Linked DNA regions of Homo sapiens: region 2 is linked to region 1. The links are contacts of gene promoters, found by promoter capture Hi-C in human tissues and cell types (Jung and others, 2019). All regions are on one chromosome and are shown on one strand. The core of a region is centred on a gene start or on the middle of the fragment in contact, and the rest is flanking DNA. Distances in the headings are between cores, read along the strand shown.

Region 1 (3,949 bases), core at 973-3,472:
GCACTCACCTCCCCTCTGAACTCGGGGGGGATCAGCCCGCAGTAGAAAGGAAAGTATAAGGTGCAGACCAAGGCCTAGGAAGAGAAGAGTCAGCAGGAACACAACTGTGCATGCTTCTTGCATTCAGAACCTTCCTAGGCACGGTTTCTAATCCCAACAGCCTGCAAAGGAGGTGTCATCAGTCCCACGTCCAGATGAGGGAGCTGAGGCATCACCTCCCAGCCAAGCTCTCCAAGGGAAGCAGGGATTGGAGCACCTCTGTCTTGACACCCACCTCCTCTTTCTGTGGGTGTGCAGGGAAGGAGGCCAGGTGCAGGCTCCTGAGGAAGCCAGCCGGGGACCCCAAAGAGTGGCCCAGACTCCTTGCCTGTGTAGCAGTTGGGATGGGGCCTGGCACATAGTAGGTGCTCAGTACACATTAGCTGCCGTGACTGTTATCAGTCTGTGGGAACAAAACTGTCACCTGCATCTCCATCTGGTCAGGGCCAGGATGGGTTCTGCACCTCCCAGAGAGAGTTGGGACGTTTCCAAGGGTTCCATGAGACAAAGTCCTATATTCAAAAGTTTGCAAGCTCTGGGTTGGTGGTTCTCAACTAGGAGTGATTTTCTCCCCTACAGGACACCTAACAATGTCAGAGACATTTTTGGTTGTCACACTGTGTGCCTGCACTTGAGCGTGCGCGTACACACTATTGGCAAATAATAGTGTCAGGGTGTATGTGAAGCATCTTTTTTAGACATCCTATTTCATTTCAATACTGGATGGTTCCTTACCTCCTTACTTGGAGATGAGTTCATTATCGATACCGCCTGCCCCCCAGAACCACTGAGCATAGAAGCCCCAGGAAGGCAAGGGTTTCTGTCTGTTTTGCTCCCTGTTACAGTCACAGTGCCTAGAATAGTGACTGGCACATAATAGGTGTTCAATAAATGTCAACCCACCGCCAAAAAGCGGCGGGAGGATGGAGTGGGGTGGAGGCTGGGGCTAGCCAGCTGCCCTCTGGAAAGAGCAGTCCCTGTGGGGGCCCTGACTCAGCAGCCTGACTCTGCCGGGCCCCAGCCAGACCCTTCTGTGTGCAGCAACCTGGAAAGTCTCCAGACCCACCCTGCCGACCCTCTCTGGGCCTCAGTTTCCTCACCTACAAACAGGTCCACCCGCCCTCCCTCCTTCCGCCCCTGCAGAAACGTCTGACGGGGAAGTACCTGGATGTCACTCTGGACTAGATGGAGCCCGCCCACCAGCCAAGCCCTGGGCACCCCCCGCCCCACACCTGGATGAGCTCATCGCAGGTGGCGAAGTCAGTGACCAAGAAGTTGCGTCCGTCAGGCCAGCGGGTCAGCGAAATGCCCAGCCGCTGGGAGGCCAGGACGTGGGCGTCGGGGGGCAGAGCATCCTGCAGCTGCTGCTTGACGTGCTCGATGGGCGCGTAGGCCGGGTGCAGGATGCTTAGGCTCAGCCGCTCCAACTGCCCAACCATGCCCAGGAGGTGGGAGCAGCAGAAGTCTGCAGTGGGGGCAGGGAAAGGGAGACCTCAGCGCCCAGGGATCCTGCCAGTCCCTCCACACCCCCACTGCCCTCCTAGGTGCAGTGGGAGCGGGGTCCTCCCCACTCCAGCTCAGAATTTCTGGGCTCGGCCCCGGATTCAAATGATCCGTTCACCTTTTCACTTTTTGCCCCGCCGACCTGGGAAACAGAGTTTCTGGCTCTGAGCCACGATCCCTCCTCTGCAAATGGGGGTCACCTAGTCCCCAGCACTCGGTGTTCTCATGGGATTAAATGAGGCTGTGCCGGGGGTAGAGGGCGCAGAGCACAGCGCCAGGCACCAGCGTCTCTGGGCTCGATCCGCTTTCATTAAGCTGTCCCCGCCCCTTTTCGCCCCCGCGGTCCGGGACTCACCGACCGACTTGCCGCAGACGATGCTGACTGCGTTGAGCGCCCCAGACGAGGAACCGTAGATGCGGCGGGCGCCCTGGAGGAGGCGCGGGGCTCGCTGGCGCAGGCATTCGGTGGCGCCCACGTGGTGGGCGCCCAGGTAGCCGGCGCCGGAGAAGGACAGGTTCCATCTGCCCTCCTCCTCTAAGAAGCCCATGGCGGGTGGACCGGGCGGGGTGATCGGGACGAGGAAGGGTCACTCCGTGACCCGGGATAGGGCCGGGATGCAGCCTTGGACGGGGCTGGGCCCAAATGTGGGCTCTGGAGGGAGCCGGGCTGGGGCTGGTGCTGGTGCTCCCTGCGCCGCCCCCGGGCTGCGTCACCTGCGCCCCAGCCAATGAAGTCCCCGGGTCGCGATCAGCCCCCACTCCAGTTGTGCGCCAGGTGTGCCCCAGAAGTGCCCGCGCGCTGTGTATACGCTGGCGCCGCCCCCACGCGCCCGCCCCGGATCCGCATCGGGTCATAGATTTCTGGGTGACACGGCAGGGGAGTGGGACCAAATCTTGCCTGATCTCTGGTAGTCTGGGCAGATGTTATTCCAGTCCTCATTACGCAAATGAGGCAACTGAGGCGCAGCCCAGGATGGTGACAGCCAGGAAGTGGCAGAGTCGGACCCAGGACACCTGGTCTTTGGGGTCAAACCAGGCTTAAGTCCGCAGCTGTGCTGGTTCCAGGGAGGGACTTGAGGGAAAGAGAGGTCTCGGGGCCAGCCTCCGCTCCAGCCAGCACCACTGCACCTTCCCCTGGCTCACCCGCTCTCCAAGCCTCACCTACCACTACAGCCTGCTCAAACATCCCACCTCCTCCCTCCTCCCCTAATCAATCCATTGGAAAGTGCTTTATAAACTGCAAAGCTCCAAGAACTTGGGTTTGTAGTGATTAGGGCTGTCTGGGCTCCAATTCTGGCTCCAGAATGTCTTGGCTGGTGACCCTGGATAATTTAACTGATCTGTGCCTCAGTTTTCTCATCCATCAAGTGGGGATAATAACATTACTTACTCCATAGGACCGGTAAGGATTAGAGTTAATGCAAGTAACGTGTTTGGAATAGCGCCCGGCACTGGATAAGCACACAAACAATGGTTACTACGGTGATTGTTTTAATCAAGTGGCGCACAATCAATGGCAACCGCTATGTTATTTATTTATTTATTTAATTTTGAGGCAGAGTCTCACTCTGTCACCCAGGCTGGGGTGCAGTGGCACAATCTCGGCTTACTGCAACCACCACCTCCCAGGTTCAAGCAATTATCCTGCCTCAGCCTCCCAAGTAGCTGGGACTACAGGCACGCACCACCACGCCCAGCTAATTTTTGTTATTTTCGGTAGAGACAGGGTTTCACCATGCTGCTCAGGCTGGTCTCGAACTCCTGGCCTCAGATGATCTGCCCACCTCAGCCTCCCAAAGTGCTGGGATTACAGGCAGGAGCCACTGCGCCCATCCCTGTGTTACTGCTTTAATCACATGGCACATATCAGTGCCTTCTCATGTGAGCTCCTTGAGGGCCAGGTCCTCCATCTGTGCCTGGAAGAAGTGTGGCACAGTGTTTGTGGACTGAATGCTCAGCCCATGGCCTGGGTGGGTCATTTTCGGAGGAAGAGGTGGGAGGATCTGCTTCTCTTAGCCTCACACCTACCTCTTCCTTGACCTGGGAGTGAAGGGCAGCTTGCCCATGGGCACTGGGTGCAGAAGGCACCCTGGGACAGGCCAGCCCAGCCTCCCCTCCCACAGAGGTGGGCGGTACCGGGCTTTGCTGATCCCACACCAGGGGCGGCATCCTTGCCTCAAAGACCATGGGCCTGCACAGACTCACCCACCTGGTGGCAGGTACCCCAGGCTATCTCCATTGCGGGAAGGACCCAGCCCCAGCTGCAGGGGGTAATTAGAAGCCATGTGCTGACTCTGCTCCAGGAGGGAACCAGGTCACAGCAGGCACAGCCAGGAACATTTCACCCACAGTTGTGACTGTGCCGGAGGCAGACTGAGCCTCCCTGGAACAGTGGACCACCAGTGTG
Region 2 (4,302 bases), core at 1,575-4,074, 590 kb after region 1:
GTGCCCAGCGCAGAGTTTCATTCTTAATGGTAAATTTTCAGTTCTCTCTTCAGCTATTAAAATCATCCATTGAATTCTTAATATTGGTTATTGGTTTTTTACTTCTAAAATTTGTGGTTGGTTCTTCCAATATGCTTGTTACTTTTTCTAGTTTCTAGTTCCTTGATTACATTTTTAAGCTCCACTTTTGTCCCCAAGAGCACACATAGTGATCATGTTGTCAAGACTGTGTCTTATAGTTCTACCATCTGAGATAACTGTGGATCTTTCCATTGTTGTCTTGGTTTTCATTCCTGCTCTCTTGCCTCCTTCTGTGCTGGTTGTCTTTGATTGTGCGGTGATGGACATTATGTCTGAAAAACTCTCTGTAGAAATAATCTACTGGGTACAATGGCTCACACCTATAATCCCAGCACTTTGGGAAGCTGAATCAGGAGGATTTCTTGAGCCCAGGACTTCACGACCAGCATGGGCAACACAGCAGAACCCTGTTGCTACAAAGAATTTACAAAATTATCCGGGCATGATGGCCCATGCTTGTAGTCTCAGCTACTTGGGAGGCTGAGGTGAAAGGATCACTGAGCCTGGGAGGTCAAGGCTGCAGTGAGTTGAGGCTGCAGTAACACTGCTCTCCAGCCTGGGTGACAGAGTGAGACCCTGTCTCCAAAATAATAATAATAATTTGAGGCCAAGATGACTTTATCTTCTTCCAGAGAGAATTTTCTTTCCTTCTCCAGGTGCTTGGGCATTCTAGATTTACCTTAATCCAGTTTCAGGGATTGAGATTTTTGGCACTACCCTGGTTACTGGAAGCTAAGCTATAGGACATGAAAGAGCTGGTTTTATTCCAATGTACTCTTTATACTTAATATACACCCTTTTGGAACCCAACCCTAAATATGGGGTCAGGGATGTCTGCCAGGGCCCCCAGCCTTGCTTGGCAGGCTCTGGACACCAGTGATTGTCCCCGTCACCCTGTGAGGCTGTCAAAAGTGCTGCCTGGCCTCTGACTTTCCTCTTCCAGATCAGCTAATGCTCTCTGGGGAGAAGGCGCCCCAAATGCAGGCTTCACCTTTCTGAATTTCCTTCTCGGATTTTACTCACTATCTCGTCACTCTTCGATGTTTCTAGGAAGATCTTAAAATCTTCTGTGCATCTGTTTCCTTATCTTCAGAGAAATGGTGGGTCTGAACTCTGTAGCCCGTCATCACTTGAAGGGCCACAAAGCGCGTCTCGCGAAATCCACCCCCTGCAGGAGCTCTGCCTGGTGACAGGGCTCAGGACCCCTCTGCTCTCAGTTCTGTCCTCACCTTCCCTCCTGGGGAATGTCTTTCCAGTGTATGGGTTTCCTAATTCCCTTCTTGTTTCTTCCCAATCACTCTTCTTCTACCAGGGGAAGCCTCTTCTCTCTCTGAACTTGGATTTTGAACAAAAGCCAGAAAGTGTTCCTGGGAATTTTCTGCCTCTTGCCCACCACACCCTTCCCTTCTACCTGTAACTAGAGAAGCCTGACTGAGCCAGACTCAGTGGGATTACATGGCTCACGCCTCTAATCCCAGCACTTTGGGGAGCTGAGGCAGGTGAATGGCCTGAGGTCAGGAGTTTGAGACCAGCCTGGCCAACATGGTGAAACCCCGTCTCTACTAAAAACACAAAAATTAGCTGGACATGGTGGTGGGTGCCTGTAATCCTAGCTACTTGGGAGGTTGAGGTAGGAGAATCCCTTGAACCCGAGAGGCGGAGGTTGCAGTGAGCCGAGATCGTGACACTGCACTCCAGCCTGGGTGAGAAAATTAGACTTCATTTCAAAAAAAAGAAAAAGAAAAAAAAAGAAGCTTGACTGCACAGTGCTCACCTGAGAGATAGGAGAAAAAATACATGATTAAAAAATGCTAATTAATGCTTTAACGATTACTCAGCCACACACATGTTAGACTTGCATGAGGGTCCATTTAAGGAAAGATAATGAGTAGAAGGCTACAATTCTGTTCTAAAAATGAGGAAAGCATGATCTTGGAGCCACACTGCTTGGGTTTGAATCTGGGCTCCACCCCTCACAGTCATTCACTTCCTATGTAACCCACTGGGCACTTCACACTGAGCCAAACACTTCCTGAGCATTTGCAATAAACCTCTTGAGTGAAGTGCTGTTATTACCCCCTCCTTTGAACTGTGTAACTTGAGCAGCCTACGTATTACAAACTCTGTAAACCATCAGAGGCTATACAGGAGTGTCATCACCACCATCATCACCATCACCATCATCACCACCATCACCATCATCATCATCACCATCATCACCATCATCAACATCACCATCATCACCATCATCACCATCATCATTATCATCATCGCCATCATCACCATCATCATTATCACCATAATCACCATCATCATCATCATTATGCTAGAAGAGACGTTTCTCAAACATCTGGATGATACCTGGACGTGGCAGACATGGATCCAAGATGATCTCAGATAGGTTTGGGGGAAAGAGAGAGAGAGAAGGAGAGAGAGACAGAGACAGAGACACAGAGAGACACGAGCGAAAACTGGCCATATCAAAAGTAACAATCGACCGTGTGGAATGCATTTCCCAGCATGAATTCTGAGGCATCTTAGGCCTAAAAGAAGACCAGAGAAGCGGCTGGGCGGGGTGGCTCATGTCTGTAATCCCAGCACTTTGGGAGGCCGAGGTGGGCGGATCACAAGGTCAGGAGTTCGAGACCATCCTGGCTAACACAGTGAAACCCCGTCTCTACTAAAAATACAAAATATTAGCCGGGCATGGTGGCGCCTGTAGTCCCAGGTACTTGGGAGGCTGAGCCAACAGAATGGCCTGAACTGGGGAGGCAGAGCTTGCAGTGAGCCGAGATCACGCCACTGCACTCCAGCCTGAGCAATAGCACAAGAATCTGTCTCAAAAAAAAAAAAAAAAGAAGACAGAGAAGCATATTCTAATTAACTAGTTTAAGAGGAACTTAAGCTAAATTTCCTTAGACATCCTAAATGGACATTGGCCCTTTTCACATTCTGAGAAAATTTCTCAGGAAAAAAAAAAAAAAAAAGAAGCAGGGAAATTTACTTAATCCATTACTTCCCAGGTTTCATTGCTGTGGAACACGGTTTCTTACTGACACCGGTGACAATCTAAGAAGCGTATTTTGTAATGTGTAAATTAAAATGTGGCTCCTTCCTCACTTATTAGGAGCTGCTGGCATTGGAAGAAGAAATGGTGAAACTGTAATGAGAAATTAATGAATAAGAAAGAAAACTGAGAGAATACTTTAAACCAACAGCTGATGCTTTAAAAATAAATAAGTTCAACAGTTAGTCTCTGACAAATCTAATCAATAAAAAAAAGAAAACAGATTAAATTAAGCAGAAGAAAGAGGGTGTGATCAATGCAGAGAGGATTCTCAAAGCCTGAGATGAAACTACGCACGGTTCTATGCTGATCAATTAGAAAATCTCCATGAAATGGACAGGTTTCTGTTCCCTCCCCAAATGATTAAAGCAGAAGTAGCTTATCTGGGAAAAAAATGCTATTTCCCATCTCTGGTACCCAGTGCCAGAAATTCCAGTCAATTAGACTTAATAAGTTGAGGGAGTGAGCTTCCTCAAGCAGGAGAGACAGACACTCTTATCTGCCAAGGACATGTTTATCTAGCTAGATCATGAATAATTGAGAAGTAGAGTCACAGGAAAAAAGGACAAAACCCAGCACGAGTCAGATAGAGACTGTCAAGGTAAATGTGATAAAATTAAACTAAGTAGCTATAACAAGAGATGTATAAGACCTGTTTGAAGGAAAATACAAAACTTGATTGTGGAACAGGGTTGAAACTGGAAGGAGACAAATGTCAGAGAGCACTTCCTCTCCACAGTGACCCTGCAGTTGCACAGCCACATGAGTGTGTACAACCTTCAACGGAGCATGTGTATTTACATGCAGTGCGATCTTCCCTTGGTATCTGCAGGGTTGGTTCCAGGACACACCTCCACCCCCACAGAATCTGAAGATGCTCAGGTCCCTTACTTAATGGTGCAGTATTTGCATATAACTGACACACACCCTCCAGTATACTTTAAATCATCTCTAGATTACTTATAATACCTGATGCCATGTCAATGCTATGTAAATAGTTGTTATACTGTATTGCTTTTTTTTTTTTTTTCTTGAGACAGAGTCCCGCCCAGGCTGGAGTGCAGTGGCGCGATCTCGGCTCACTGCAAACTCCGCCTCCAGGGTTCACGCCATTCTCCTGCCTCAGCCTCCCGAGTAGCTGGGACTACAGGCAC

Evidence for each region. Contacts are between HindIII fragments. The study calls those that stand out against the background at their distance.
Region 2: a contact is called between a fragment that was not itself captured here and the fragment with the promoter of PNPLA5 in region 1, in 2 of the 25 tissues and cell types used here (IMR-90 fibroblasts and mesendoderm cells).

What each region holds. Positions count from the first base shown.
Region 1 is chr22:43,889,791-43,893,739 of GRCh38, forward strand. It overlaps PNPLA5 (patatin like domain 5, triacylglycerol lipase), which reads right to left and starts at 2,223. Exons shown (of 9, transcript NM_138814.4): 1 at 1,898-2,223; 2 at 1,272-1,504; 3 at 9-74. The coding sequence starts at 2,090. The HindIII fragment of the contact is 8,381 bases long and covers 1-3,949 here.
Region 2 is chr22:44,477,637-44,481,938 of GRCh38, forward strand. No RefSeq gene overlaps it. Among named protein-coding and RNA genes, the nearest start is that of RTL6, 18 kb to the right of the region's middle. The HindIII fragment of the contact is 4,944 bases long and covers 353-4,302 here.